4 separate regions of the Homo sapiens genome follow, and all the other regions are linked to region 4. Evidence: promoter capture Hi-C in 16 types of primary human blood cells and fetal thymus (Javierre and others, 2016). All regions are on one chromosome and are shown on one strand. The core of a region is centred on a gene start or on the middle of the fragment in contact, and the rest is flanking DNA. Distances in the headings are between cores, read along the strand shown.

Evidence for each region. Contacts are between HindIII fragments. The CHiCAGO score rates a contact against its expected background, and 5 or more counts as called.
Region 1: a fragment that was not itself captured here is called in contact with the fragment with the promoter of SYNE1-AS2 in region 4 in 1 of 17 cell types (neutrophils); the score reaches 12.1 in neutrophils.
Region 2: a contact is called between a fragment that was not itself captured here and the fragment with the promoter of SYNE1-AS2 in region 4, in 1 of 17 cell types (neutrophils). The highest score is 6.4, in neutrophils.
Region 3: a contact is called between a fragment that was not itself captured here and the fragment with the promoter of SYNE1-AS2 in region 4, in 1 of 17 cell types (neutrophils). The highest score is 14.1, in neutrophils.

The regions. Positions count from the first base shown.
Region 1 is chr6:152,218,245-152,221,356 of GRCh38, reverse strand. SYNE1 (spectrin repeat containing nuclear envelope protein 1) reads left to right here. Exons shown (of 146, transcript NM_182961.4): 119 at 311-515; 120 at 2,172-2,354; 121 at 2,954-3,100. Among named protein-coding and RNA genes, the nearest start is that of SYNE1-AS1, 160 kb to the left of the region's middle. RefSeq lists an enhancer at 1-220. The HindIII fragment of the contact is 2,405 bases long and covers 594-2,998 here.
Region 2 is chr6:152,198,941-152,202,079 of GRCh38, reverse strand. It overlaps SYNE1 (spectrin repeat containing nuclear envelope protein 1), which reads left to right. Exons shown (of 146, transcript NM_182961.4): 127 at 131-256. Among named protein-coding and RNA genes, the nearest start is that of SYNE1-AS1, 180 kb to the left of the region's middle. The HindIII fragment of the contact is 3,321 bases long and covers 199-3,139 here.
Region 3 is chr6:152,236,969-152,240,537 of GRCh38, reverse strand. It overlaps SYNE1 (spectrin repeat containing nuclear envelope protein 1), which reads left to right. Exons shown (of 146, transcript NM_182961.4): 108 at 832-1,005. Among named protein-coding and RNA genes, the nearest start is that of SYNE1-AS1, 140 kb to the left of the region's middle. The HindIII fragment of the contact is 6,097 bases long and covers 1-3,569 here.
Region 4 is chr6:152,400,455-152,403,854 of GRCh38, reverse strand. It overlaps SYNE1-AS2 (SYNE1 antisense RNA 2), which reads right to left and starts at 1,609. Exons shown (of 2, transcript XR_007059819.1): 1 at 1,188-1,609. It overlaps SYNE1 (spectrin repeat containing nuclear envelope protein 1), which reads left to right. Exons shown (of 146, transcript NM_182961.4): 47 at 2,514-2,717. The HindIII fragment of the contact is 21,096 bases long and covers 1-3,400 here.

The sequences.
Region 1 (3,112 bases), core at 547-3,046, 180 kb after region 4:
CAATGACAGTTTGAATTTGAGCTATATAGATTCTATTCCTTTAAACTTCTCTTTCACAACATGAATTTAAGGATAAATAAATGTAGTGAAGAGATTTAGAAAGAATTAGAAGTACTGTACACCCAAAGATTGCCATCATCCTCATTACCTACCCTGAAACTAGGAATATGAAACATTAATTTTTATTATGTTAACTAGAAATGATTATGTCTATATTCACATGAACCAGGATCATGAAAAATAAAATAGCACATATCCACATTTGGTGAGAGGTGGTAATCTGCTCATGAGTGTTGGTTATTATTTCCAGATGGAATAACTTGCTGGAAGAGATTGCTGAGCAGCTACAGTCCAGCAAGGCCCTACTTCAGCTTTGGCAAAGATACAAGGACTACTCCAAACAGTGTGCTTCGACAGTTCAGCAGCAGGAGGATCGAACCAATGAGCTGTTGAAGGCAGCCACAAACAAGGACATTGCCGATGATGAGGTTGCCACATGGATTCAAGATTGCAACGTATGTTCAGGAGCTACCTTGTTTTCCCCACATGCCCTTCTTAGACTGCCCAAGTTTAGCTTTTGGTCTGTGTAAGCTTTGGTATGTCTTTCTATGTGAGACAGTTACCCAAAAATAACTGTCTTAGGATCAAAGAGCCTGCCTGATTTTCAGAACACAGGTGCACATGCATCAGACTAAGAGGTCTCCTCCCATTGTTTTATTTTTTAAAATGAGTTGTTTTCCCATTTTTCCTAGTGGAATTTAGTCAATGTGAAAGATTGAGGCTCTTTGTGTTTTCTAGGGTGGTCAATATAAGACATGACCATATGGGGAATAGTGTTCTATCTTTAAAAAATCTTCTGTTCCAGATGTTGTCCATTTACATTCATTAACTCCTATGTAAGCATCTACACAATAGTTTCATCTAAGATATTAATGGTAGAAAGAAGTCTTTCTCTCCTAATTTACTGGTATACTTCTTTTAATGGCTTTTTAATAATTCTCTTTTTCACTGTAGCTGCCAATAACCTACTTAAGGGTTTAAGGAACAGCTCTTCTCTTGTTTCAAGCATTACATGGCTCTTACTATTTGTCCTTATTTGTCTTTATTTTTAAGAGCTTGTTACGAGGATCTTTTTATAAACTTTTCCAAATCAGTTTATTAGAATTAGGCAAGCTATAAAAACTATGTAAATAAAAGTTTAACCTATTCTAATATCTTCAACCTGAATAATCACTTTAAAGCTAAAGATGGGTATTTTAAAATAAAGATAATACAGTGCTTTTTTCATCCACATAATTTGTGTGTACAAGAACTGTCATTTTCAATACTCCTGAATTGAAATACACCTTGTCTGTTATCTGTGTCAAGCGTAAAGAGCCCTTTGTTCTTCTTTCTCTCACAGAAGTCACTGCCTAGGCATAACATGACTGAGTGGGATACCAGCAACAGGTAGAAGAAGCAGTCACTTATTATCTCTCAATGATAGGATAGAAAGCAGAAACAGGGAGTTTCCATTGGCTTATATTTTTTAACCTGTAGGAGGGTCCCACAGAAAGTGGAGGCAAAGAGATCCCATGGAAAAGAATGGGAATACAGGCTACTCTCACCCCCTGCTCACCAAAATCATCACTGTGTTCTGTACCCTACTGAGATAGGAGGTTGCTGTACTTGCAATAATGTGACCACACATATAGAAGACACCACGGACAAATTCCTGGTGTGTATGATAATAATAGAAAAAGGAAAAATATAACATTTTGTTTTCAATTTGATACAAATTACATAAAGAGGCAGGAAAAAAACTGCCAAAATATTTCCAGTTATTGGCTCTACTCTTGGGTCATGTTTGTTTTTTTTTTTTTTCTTGTTTATGTATGTTTTTCTGCATTTCCCCAAGGTCCTGTAATGAACCTACATAGCTTTTACTAACAAAAGAGTAATTATATATAGCCATAGGTTATATGTGTATAATGTATGTTTAAAATATTAACATAGCATTTTAAAAAATGGGGTTCAGTGCGTGTTCATTTTTCCACAGGTGAAGTTTATTTAGCCTAATAATATGATCCGTAGGAATGGTGTGTTTCTACATGTGTAGCCCTTTGCCGATTGCTGTTTATGATAAGGAGTATCAACATGCTTCAGAGTGGGCATATTTTCACCTCTTCTAGGACCTCCTCAAAGGACTGGGCACAGTTAAAGATTCCCTCTTTTTTCTCCATGAGCTGGGAGAGCAACTGAAGCAACAAGTGGATGCTTCCGCAGCATCAGCTATTCAATCGGATCAACTCTCTTTGAGTCAACACTTGTGTGCCCTGGAGCAAGCTCTCTGCAAACAGCAGACTTCATTACAGGTACAGAGCTCCTATTTAGTATCTTCTGTATATTGGCTGTTCTCTAATATCTGGGCACAAACACAGAAAAAGAATTCCTTGTCATGGCAACAATGCCTCCTTCAAGACTCAAGAAAATAGCAAGTAAACAAACTTGGAAGTTCTGGTGGGGACGATGAAGGTGGACGTTTTGCGCTGTTCTCTGCCAAGGAATTTTAAAATCGGTTTAAGATGCAAGCCCCTGAACCAATGCCTGCCACCATGGCCTGTTCAATTAATAAACACTAAGCGGCTTTAATATAAATATTCGTGTTTATTTAACTCAGACTTTTACAAGAATCAGAAGATTTTTCAGACGTGTTGTTTGATCATGTATTTAAAGAATAATTTGAATTGTTATTGACTTATGGTGCATAGAAATAATTATAGTTTTTAGAAAAATTACATAAAGAAGATTTAAATTGTTATAGCTTTTTTTATAGGAACGTCTAGAGAATGGCAATTTGATACAAGAATATGAAAAATAATTTTAATATCCACTTGCCCTTTTACCAGACTTTATTAAAATACCAATTTTTTTTTTTTTAACTGAAATACCAATTTCTTTTGTGGAAAAAAAGGCTGGAGTTCTTGATTATGAAACCTTTGCCAAGAGTTTAGAAGCTTTGGAGGCCTGGATAGTGGAAGCTGAAGAAATACTACAAGGGCAGGACCCTAGCCACTCATCTGACCTCTCCACAATCCAGGAAAGGATGGAAGAACTTAAGGTAAGTGTGTTC
Region 2 (3,139 bases), core at 610-3,109, 200 kb after region 4:
CCACCACACTCAGCCATCAGTGTAACTTTCATTCTTTCTCTGGGAATGAAGAAGAGTGTTTCTTTTCTTTTCCCCCCCCAGTTTCCTACATCAAAAACATCTATGCTATTTGTTTTTATTCCCATGATAGGACTGGGAAAAATGTGAGAAAGGAATAGCAGATTCCCTGGAGAAACTACGAACTTTCAAAAAGAAGCTTTCGCAGTCTCTCCCGGATCACCATGAAGAGCTCCATGCAGAACAAATGCGTTGCAAGGTAAATTACTGAACTGAGATTTTCACCGTCACCTGTGTGCCTCTGCTGGAATGTCTTTGGGGCCATAATCCAGTCAAACTCTTAGGTTATCTACATGCAGATACAAGATCCTAGTATATGACATAAGGACAGGCAACTCAGGTGAAACTTGTATGGCTGATTTATTGCAGTTGATGAAATTATAGACTAGTTTATGGATTACTCCAAGGAAGCAAATGAAAATTTAAAACACATTAAAAGATATTTAAAAGCTGAGTCAAGAGCAATAAAGTCATTTTTTTTGAAGCATCCACACTGGGGAGTCATTCTACCAGAAGAATCGAGTCTACAAGAAGGAAAAAAAAAAAAAAGGATCAACAGCCTGGAAAATCTGCAGACAGTGGCCCTCCAAAGAACACACCCTGCCCTCTAGACCATTATGCAAGGAAAGGGGGAAAAATAGCTTATCTCAGTGACTGCATAGAGACACACAATCCCTAAATTGCTCAGGGCTCTAAGTACTTAAAGATTATGATCAACACTTCAAATGGTACTTGGAAGCAAGTCAGTAGCTAATACAGATCACTCCCTGGATTATGAGCTCACCGAGACCAACACAATTCAGTGGCTATAAGATTCATGCCTTTCACATCTTTGTAGCCAAGTGAAATGTCCAAACAGCAGTTCTTTGCTGAGCAATAGGCTGATCATATCAAACGTACCTTTAAAAATGTTTTTCTTTCAAATTAAACATGCCCTTGTGTTCCCCAGTCATTTGCAAATTATTGCTCTAGGGTAATTCTGTTAAAAATTCGCATATACTTAAATGACTTGGGTTTTAATTAGAAATTCTCTGCCTCACTTTGGCAAAGAAATCCTAAGCATTTAAGAGATGATAATTGTTAAAGAGGTCTAGAAATCATGAAAAGTGTGGCTATAAGAATTTTTTCTTCAGTTGTAAAATCTAAGGATATTATTTGAAACTTGAAAAAGGCAGATTTAGGAAAGTTAAAAGGTAGTATATTTTACATCATGGATGGAAAGTGAAAGAAGTACTATCTTGAGCTGTTACATTCAGAAGTATGCAATGGTTACAAAGATTAAAAAGCGCATTTTGAACCTGTGATGATAAATTTATTAAAAATAAAGAAGCCGGGTGTGGTGGATCATGCCTGTAATCCCAGCACTTTGGAGGCCAAGGCAAACAGATCATTTGAGACCAGATGTTCAAGATCAGCCTGGGCAATATGGCAAGACTCCATATCTAAAGAAATTTAAAAATTAACCAGAGTGGTGGTGCTTGCCTGTAGTCCTAGCTACTGGGGAGGCTGAGGCAGGAGGATCACTTAGGAATCTGAGGCTGCAGTGAGCTATGATCACACCACTGCATCCAGCCTGGCTGACAGAGTGAGACCCTGTCTGTAAAAAAATAAATACATTAAAAATTATTAAAGAAAACTTCTGCAAAGCAGGAATGGGCATTTATTAGGGGCTGTGACTATATTGGTGTTATCTCAGTTGGCATTAACAAAAGCTCGTGAAAACATTTATTATTGCCCCTTTTCAGAAGGGAAAACTGAGGCCTCTGGAAATTTAATAACTTTTCAAAGTCAGTAAATATCTGGGTTGCCTGTATCTACAGGCTATATTTTTGCCACACTGACTCGTTTAAGGGGTTGGTATACTGTGCGTCTGAAACAGTTGGTTTTTGGTGGTGGTGTTATTATGTACTTTTGTTAAATCCATATACAAATCTGATGCTCGAGTTGGGGGGGTAGAAATCGGTGTGAAAAGTGGAAAATCTTTCCAGTGGTATAACAATTGAATATGTTTAGAAGTATTAGAAGAAATGTTGCATATTTAATTAACCTAGATGGTTTGGTCTTTCAGCCAAATACTGTTGCCATGGGGCGTCATTTTTTATCTCCCAAAAAACATGACAGTTACAAACACACGCTGCTATTGAGTGTGTAGATTTAAAAAATGTATTTTCGTCTAGTCCTGCTACTCTTCCCCAAACTGCCCTTAGCAGCAAAACAAGGCAATTACCTGGAAAATTCAGGCTAAAATCTTGTTTGCCTAAATTGCTTGGGAAGTTAGCCTCAGACAGCACCGCTAATTGCCATTGCCTTTGGAAACCTTTCTACCGTGTAAAGACACATAAAGGGAGGGGAAACGGCACATGAAATACTCTATTTATACACAAAACTAGCTGGAATCTAAAAACAACAGCTGGTTATACAAATTGCAAAACTGGTAATTGGTCAAAATATTGTAAAAACTAATGTCAACTCATTCAAATATTGCTATATGAATTTTTTTTTCTTAAATCATTCCCCTAAAAGACAGGGTACATAATCTTTTTTAGTAACTTAAAGAAATGTCTGATCCTGCAGAAAATGTATTCAGTGCATTGTTTTAAATTGAGTAGTAACAGCAACAGATCTTCTCAGCTATTACATTATAAGTATAGATCACAGAATGTAGCAACTCTATAGTGCTTGAAAATGAAAGTTAAATTTAGGTGTCTGTTTTTAAAAATATTTCATCAGTGTGATCAGCAATTCAGGACAAAAAGAAAGGATAAGTTAGAGGTTTATGAAGTCAGTCTAAAGTAAAGAAGATCAATACAGTGATTAAACTTCAATTTAGGAAAAAAAAATTTTAAATCAATAAAATGATGAGTAGATGGCAGAAAGATTCTGCAGGCAATCATACTTTATCAGAAGGACTTAGCAATTTATCAAATTATGTGGAAGCAAATGAAATATGGGCAAACCTCATTTTATTGCACTTGTTTTAGTGTGTTTCACAGATCCTATGTTTTGTTTTTTGTTTTTTGGTTTTTTTTTTTTTTTTTACAAATTGAAGATTGTGGCATTGCTGCATAGAACAAGTCTACCA
Region 3 (3,569 bases), core at 1,065-3,564, 160 kb after region 4:
TCTATTATACACAAACGGTAACATTTCAAAAACATTAGTAGGATGGCGCAAGGCCTACAGTTATGTTATGTGTAGGTATAATACAAGGAAAGCAAATTTATAATATCAATCAGTGCATATAAAGCTGTGCTTGACAACATGGAATGAGCACGCAAATATCCTAGAAGTTCAGAAAGTAGAGCCCAAGCCCAGCCATGGAGGAAGGAAAGCAATGTTTTTTGTTTGTTTGTTTGTTTGTTTGTTTTGAGATGGAGTCTCCAACCAGAGCTCCAACTGTCCTGGCAAAGAAAAACTCAGAGCCTGTCTTCAAAGGAGCCCACCTTCGTTCTTACCTCTACCTTTCCCTGTGTTTCCTTTTTGCCCCTTTGTACACCTGGTCCTAGTTGCTCCCTCTGCCCTCCCTTGTCCTGGTCAAGGACTCCTCGCGCACTCCTCACTCTCCTCTAGAAATGCAGAGCTGTCTACTCAGCTCCAGCGCTGGGTTGGTGTGAACTCCTCTCCACCCAGGCTGGAGTGCAGTGGCACGATCTTGGCTCACTGCAACCTCGGCCTCCCAGGTTCAAGCGATTCTTGTGCCTCAGCCTCCTGAGTAGCTAGGATTACAGGCACACACCAGCATGCCCGGCTGATTTTTGTATTTTTAGTAGAAACGGATTCCACCACATTGGCCAGGCTGGTCTTGAGCTCTTGACCTCAGGTAATCCACCCACTTCAGCCTCCCCAACTGTTGGGATTACAGGCGTGAGCCACCGCACCCGGCCCTAAACCAATTTTGATTCTAACATAATATATGAATGAGTTGCTGACTTCTTTCTTCCTGAAAAATTGCAGGAATACTTTCAGGGCCTGGAATCTCATATGATCTTGACTGAAACACTCTTCAGAAAGATAATCAGCTTTGCAGTCCAAAAGGAAACCCAGTTCCATACAGAGCTGATGGCTCAGGCTTCTGCTGTACTGAAACGGGCTCACAAGAGGGGTGTGGAGCTGGAGTACATTCTAGAGGTGAGACCATTGATGTCATATCTTCTGTGCTGCAAACTTCCTGCTGCAAAATAGACCTTTAATGCAAGATGTATCTATCCATGCAGTTTGCCTCACATAACCTCAGAACTAGCTGCGCTCTCGGGCTCAGGACTGCACTTTTCCTATGGTTCTGTGTTGCTTATTCCCCCTGTGTTTTCTGTGTACATTGGGCTATCTGCTGTGCCATGTCGAAAGTAAGATAGATACACACTGACTTCAGACTATGCATGAAGATATTTGGGGTTTTGATATTCAGACTGATAGCTTACTTAAGAGTATGAAAAATGTAGAAATAGGCCAGGTGCAGTGGCTCACACCTGTCATCCCAGCACTTTGGGAGGCTGAGGCGGGTGGATCACTTGAGGTCAGGAGTTCGAGACCAGCCTGGCCAACATGATGAAACAAACCAACATGTTGAAACCCCGTCTCTACTAAAAATACAAAAAATTAGCCGGACGTCGTCGTGGGTGCCTGTAATCTCAGCTACTTGGGAGGCTGAGGCAGGAGAATCACTTGAACCGGGAGGCAGTGGTTGCAGTGAGCCAAGGTCACACCATTGCACTCCAGCCTGGGCAACGGGAGTAAAACTCTGTCTCAAAAAAAAAAAAAAATGAAAGTAAAATGTAGAAATATTTTTTTCTGTCCCAAATGCGGTTGCTCTTGGAACAGAGTAGTGCTCAGTGGTGGCTACTGGCAAGCTATAGAACCCCGTGGAAATGTAGGACATTATTGATGGAACAGTCCCCTTTCTTTCTTCAGTAACTGTACCAGTTGCCCTAAACTGTTCCTGCTTTCTCATTCTTCCTCTTTCCCTTGGAAGTTTTAGAGATTATAATCTCTCTCCCCTTTGTGGACTTCCCCACCCACTCCCACAATATTACTGATCTTAACTGGGTTGCCTGCAGGTCGTATTTGCATTTTTTCTAAATGGGATTTTCCCTGGGCCAACATTTTCATAGGTAGCTAACCCCCAAATCCCAGATGTGGAATTCCCTGATGTGGAATTCCCTATATTTTGGAGAGACATCTACCTTTAACGTTTGAAATCTCTGTAATAATAGTTACACTTTATTGACATGTCAGGTCCCTGGCAAGACTTCTTACATTTACATGAATCCATCTCATCTTTATCATAACCCTTTGAGATAGAATTTTGAATCCCTGTTTCAGCAATGAGTCTGGGAGCAACTGTTTGCCAAGACACGTGGTTAATTGGTGGCAAAGTCAGAGATCACACCTTCATCTGTCTGACTTCACGACCTGAAATGTGTGTTTCTCCATGAAACTTACCTGATGACACCATTTAAATTGTAGCCCCACCAGGCACACACCTGGGCACTCCCTCCCACCCCTACCCAGTTCTGTTTTATTCTTCCACAGCACAAGAACTCTATTATACCATACAACTTATTGTTTGTTTTTGGTTTATTGTTTATTATTGATTGCCTGTCTCTCCTCACTAGAAGGCCTGGGTTTGTGTCTGTTTTATTTACTCCCAGATCCCTAGGCATTGAAAATACCAGGCAATAGATATTTGGTAAGTGTATTTAAAAAGCATGGGTTTCTACTACTGTGCCCTGTTGCCACTCCAACTGCACAGTGAAGTGAGCATACTCACACTGAGAAACTGCTGACCCACAGCGTAAATTACTGGAAAAGACTTCAACTGATCTTTTAAAAAGTGTTTTCCAGTTTTAAATAAAATAAAAGTCTGAACTTAGGAATAAGTGATGTGGTATTTTTCTTTAACAGAATATATAAACTATATATTCATATTTATAGATATGTTTCATATGCAAATGTAATTGATTTGTTTACTCGTTACATGAAAGGCAAACATCCCCATCCTTTTGACTTAAATCCTTACTGTGGTAAAGAATAAAACCATACATACCTGGGCTAGATGTGGTGGCTCATGCCTGTAATCCCAGCACTTTGGGAGGCTGAAGCAGGAGGATCTTTTGATACCAGGAGTTTGAGACCAGGCTGGACAACATAGTGAGACCCCCATCTCTACAAAAAAATTTTTTTTAAGTTAGCCTGGTGTGGTGGAATGCGCCTGTGGTCCCAGCTACTTGGGAGGATGAAGCAGGAGGATCCCTTGAGCCCAGGAGTTCGAGTCTACAGTGATCCATGATTGTGCCACTGTACTCCAGCCTGGGCAACAGAGTGAGAGCCTATCTAAAAAAAAAAAAAAAAAAAAAAGTGCATACCCAATAGAAGGTACACTGCATACATTATTCCATTTAATCCTCATGATGGAGAAGATAGCTATTATTATCCCCATTGTAACGTATGGAAAAGAGGTACAGAGTTTAGTAGCTTACTCACAGTTGTAAAGGGGCTTAGTGGCAGATTCCAGAGCCCATTCACAATGCTTTCAAGGGTCACCATTTGATTACTTGCTTTAAAGCCATCTTTTGCTTCCCAAAGCAAGGCCCAACGCAAACATCTCTGATATAACTTTAAGGAGAGACTGTCAGGCACGTATTTTGCACCCAAGGAAGAATGTCTTTCGCTAATGAGGGTTTTTTTAGCTCACA
Region 4 (3,400 bases), core at 360-2,859:
GTAGTTCTTTTTTTGCCTACTGAATTTCGGAAGCATTTCAGCCAAGTTGCCTCATGGACCATTTCATGTCTAGACAGGAACAGAACCCCCTCTTTTTTTGGTGTTTTTGATGTTGGTTGTTTGTTTGTTTATTGAGACAGGGTCTCACTCTGTCACCCAGGGTGGAGTGCAGTGGTGCAATCTCGGCTTACTGCAACCTCTGCCTCCCAAGCTCAAGCAATTCTCCCACCTCAGCCTCCCTGGTAGCTGAGACTACAGGCACGTGCCACCATGGCAGGCTAATTTTTTAAATTTTTTGTAGACAGGAGGTTTTGCCATGTTGCCAAGGCTGGTCTTGTACTCCTGAGCTCATGCAATCTGCCTGCCTCAGCCTCCCAAAGTGCTGGGATTACAGGTGTGAGCCACTGCGCCCAGCCTAGAAACCCTTCTTATGAATGTTGATGTTCTTATTGATATTTTCCTAATGCTGTTACTGAATAACTGGGTTTAGAGGGATCACCACTATAAACCTCCCTTCACGGCCCTTCAGATGGCACAAATCCACGGGAACCATGAAGCAGGCCAGGGTAGATCAGCACTGGTCAGAACACCTGGGCTACTTCAGTGCCCAAGCCCTGGAAGCATCCAGCATGGTGGGTCTCTTTTGGCTGGCAGCCCCACTGGCTCCAGGCTCAGGTTTCTGCTGCATCCCTTTAGCTTCCATATGTGTTGCTGCTTCTGTTGATTTTCTCTACATTTCCTTTCTTCTTCTTGTGCTTTCTCTTTGATTTGCTACTTTGGGCTAAGCAATCAATCTAGTTGATCAGTTATGCTTTTGCTCTGACCTGAGACTGCTTGTTCAGCAGTACCATTAGGGATGATATACATGCACAGGAATGCTAGAAGTTTCGTGTGAAGTAAGAAGACACAAAGGAGGTGCTATCCATATGCAAAAAAGATAAAGAGTCCTTATGCATGCCGCCTGTGTTGGGGATATCAATGGTTAACAGTTGGACTTTTACAGAGTTGAGCAGGATCTTCAGAGAGTTATTGGTGTACTCTAGTCTTCTCTTTCTTCCTTTCTCTCTCTCTCTCTCTCTGTTTCTCTCTCTCTCTGTCTTTCTCTCTCTCACACACACACACACGTGTGCACATACATGCACCCCTATGTATACTCAAGGAAGAGGTGAGGGGGTGGCTTACCTTACCTCAAGGCAGAAGGGTTCCGGCAGTGCCACCTGAAGAACAGGATATTTGTCCCCTGCATTTGGCAGGCATGGGAGTCTGATCTCTATCCCCCAAAGAATCCTAAAAGTGACAGACAGGCTGGCTAACTGCTGCTATATTTGCCAAAGGATAAATGATGGCTTGTGGGGTCCTGCACCTCAAAGTTAGTTGGAGGTAAATGCCAGAGGTCACTCTGGCCCAAATATGAACCAGGAGAGGAAAAGAAAGGAAGAGACCACCATATGAGGATATTATAGGTGGCCTAAGAAGGCTATCTGGAGGATAAACAGACCTTAGCAATGAGAAGTTAAAGAAAGGCCTCCAGGCTGAGGAATGAGAAAGTAAAGAGCCAAAGAACAGCGCACTGTCGTGTCTAGGGAACTTCACTGGGAAGTCCAAGCATGAAAAAAGTCAGAAAAACACAAGACCAAGGCCTATGGGAGGAGGAATGAATGCTAAACCTTGCCTGGCCTAGAGGGCACAGATGCCCATCCAGTGAGTCAGAATGCCTCACCCGCCTCCTGCCAGTCTGAGCCTATGGGAGAAAGAAGCCTTACACAGGGTGGCAGAATAGAAATAAAATGAAGGAAGAGAAAGAAAGATATTTACTCCCTTCCACACTGTTGGTCTCCTGCTCCCAGCAGATCTGAGGTGGGGGTAAGAATAGAAGCCTTCAATTTAAGTTAAGTTCAAAGTTTTCATTACCAAATAGGCCAGGATGTTTGAATTGTGGAATTGAGATTGTTTTTCAATGTATAGTGACTATATGTCCTTTGACTAACTAGGGGGCCATAGAAGTCGACCCTCCTCAGCTATATCATCCAGGGAAAAGAGAATAACTAGCCCCACTCAATATTTTAAAGCAACAGTGGGGACAAAAATAAAATTGTTTTATGATAAAATCCTACAGTGATGTTTGCCCCAGATAGTGTTACATCTGAGCAGACAATGGGTATTTCCAGGGAGAATCAAGAGCAGATTTTTGGTCACCACCTGGGAATTCTGGGTAGGTCTAGCTCTACTTTCAGAATGCCCTCTCACATCTTCCCTGGAACCTCAGTTAGAGCTTCCACTCTCCCACCCAGTGTTAACACAATCCTTCCTCTTTCTATTTGCCCATCACTTCATGTGTTTGGCAACTGTGTCCACTGATTTTCCTTCTTGGAAAGGCATATTAACATTGGAGCTGGCTTCCATGATGAGACTTGTGTGGCTTTGACAATTAAGCTGCACGTGAACAGAATTTCTACTGAATGAGTATTCTTCTGGTCTTCAGAGATATTGATGAAATCTTGCTTGATATTTAGTTTATAGAAGCAGACTTAATGCAGAAACTGGAGCATGCCAAAGAAATAACTGAAGTAGCAAAAGGAACCCTGAAGGATTTCACGGCTCAAAGTACACAAGTGGAGAAGTTTATTAATGACATAACAACATGGTTCACAAAAGTGGAAGAATCGTTGATGAACTGTGCCCAAAATGAGACTTGTGAAGCATTGAAAAAAGTCAAGGTAGGTAATAAACTATCATTAAGTGCTTCCATTCAAATGGTGATTGTAGTTCTGTTTTGTGGTGACTATAATAAAAAATATAACCTCTGCTCTCAGTTACCCATATGAACACCAGACCAACTTATTTATGACATTGAACACAGCAAAGTAAGCAACACGTGAAGAACTGGGTGCAGGTGTTCAGAAATCAAAAATGAATACCTTGAAAATAGAAAGCATGTGTTGCTGTAGTGCCTGCTCAGAGTCTATGCTTGTTCAAAGTTTTTTTTTCTTTTTTATAAAAGGGTGGAGCCTCTGGAAGAACTATGTGACTTCCACAAATTTTCAAACTTGAGTATCCAATAGTTTTTCATCACTTAATTATATTTATTGGTCACTGTGACTTCTTTCATCCAGATAATGTATATTTTTTGAAAAAGAAGAAGTTGAGAAAACATTCTATTTCCATGTTTTCTATTTTTTTATTTTTATTTTTTGAGATGGAATCTCACTCTGTCACCCAGGCTGGAGTGCAGTGGCACAATCTGGGCTCACTGCAACCTCCCCTCCCAGGTTGAAGTGATTCTTCTACCACAGTCTCCCCAATAGTTGGAACTACAGGCACCCACCACCATGCCCAGCTAAGTTTTGTATTTTTAGTAGAGATGGGTTTCATCATGTTGGCCAGGCTGGTCTCGAACTCC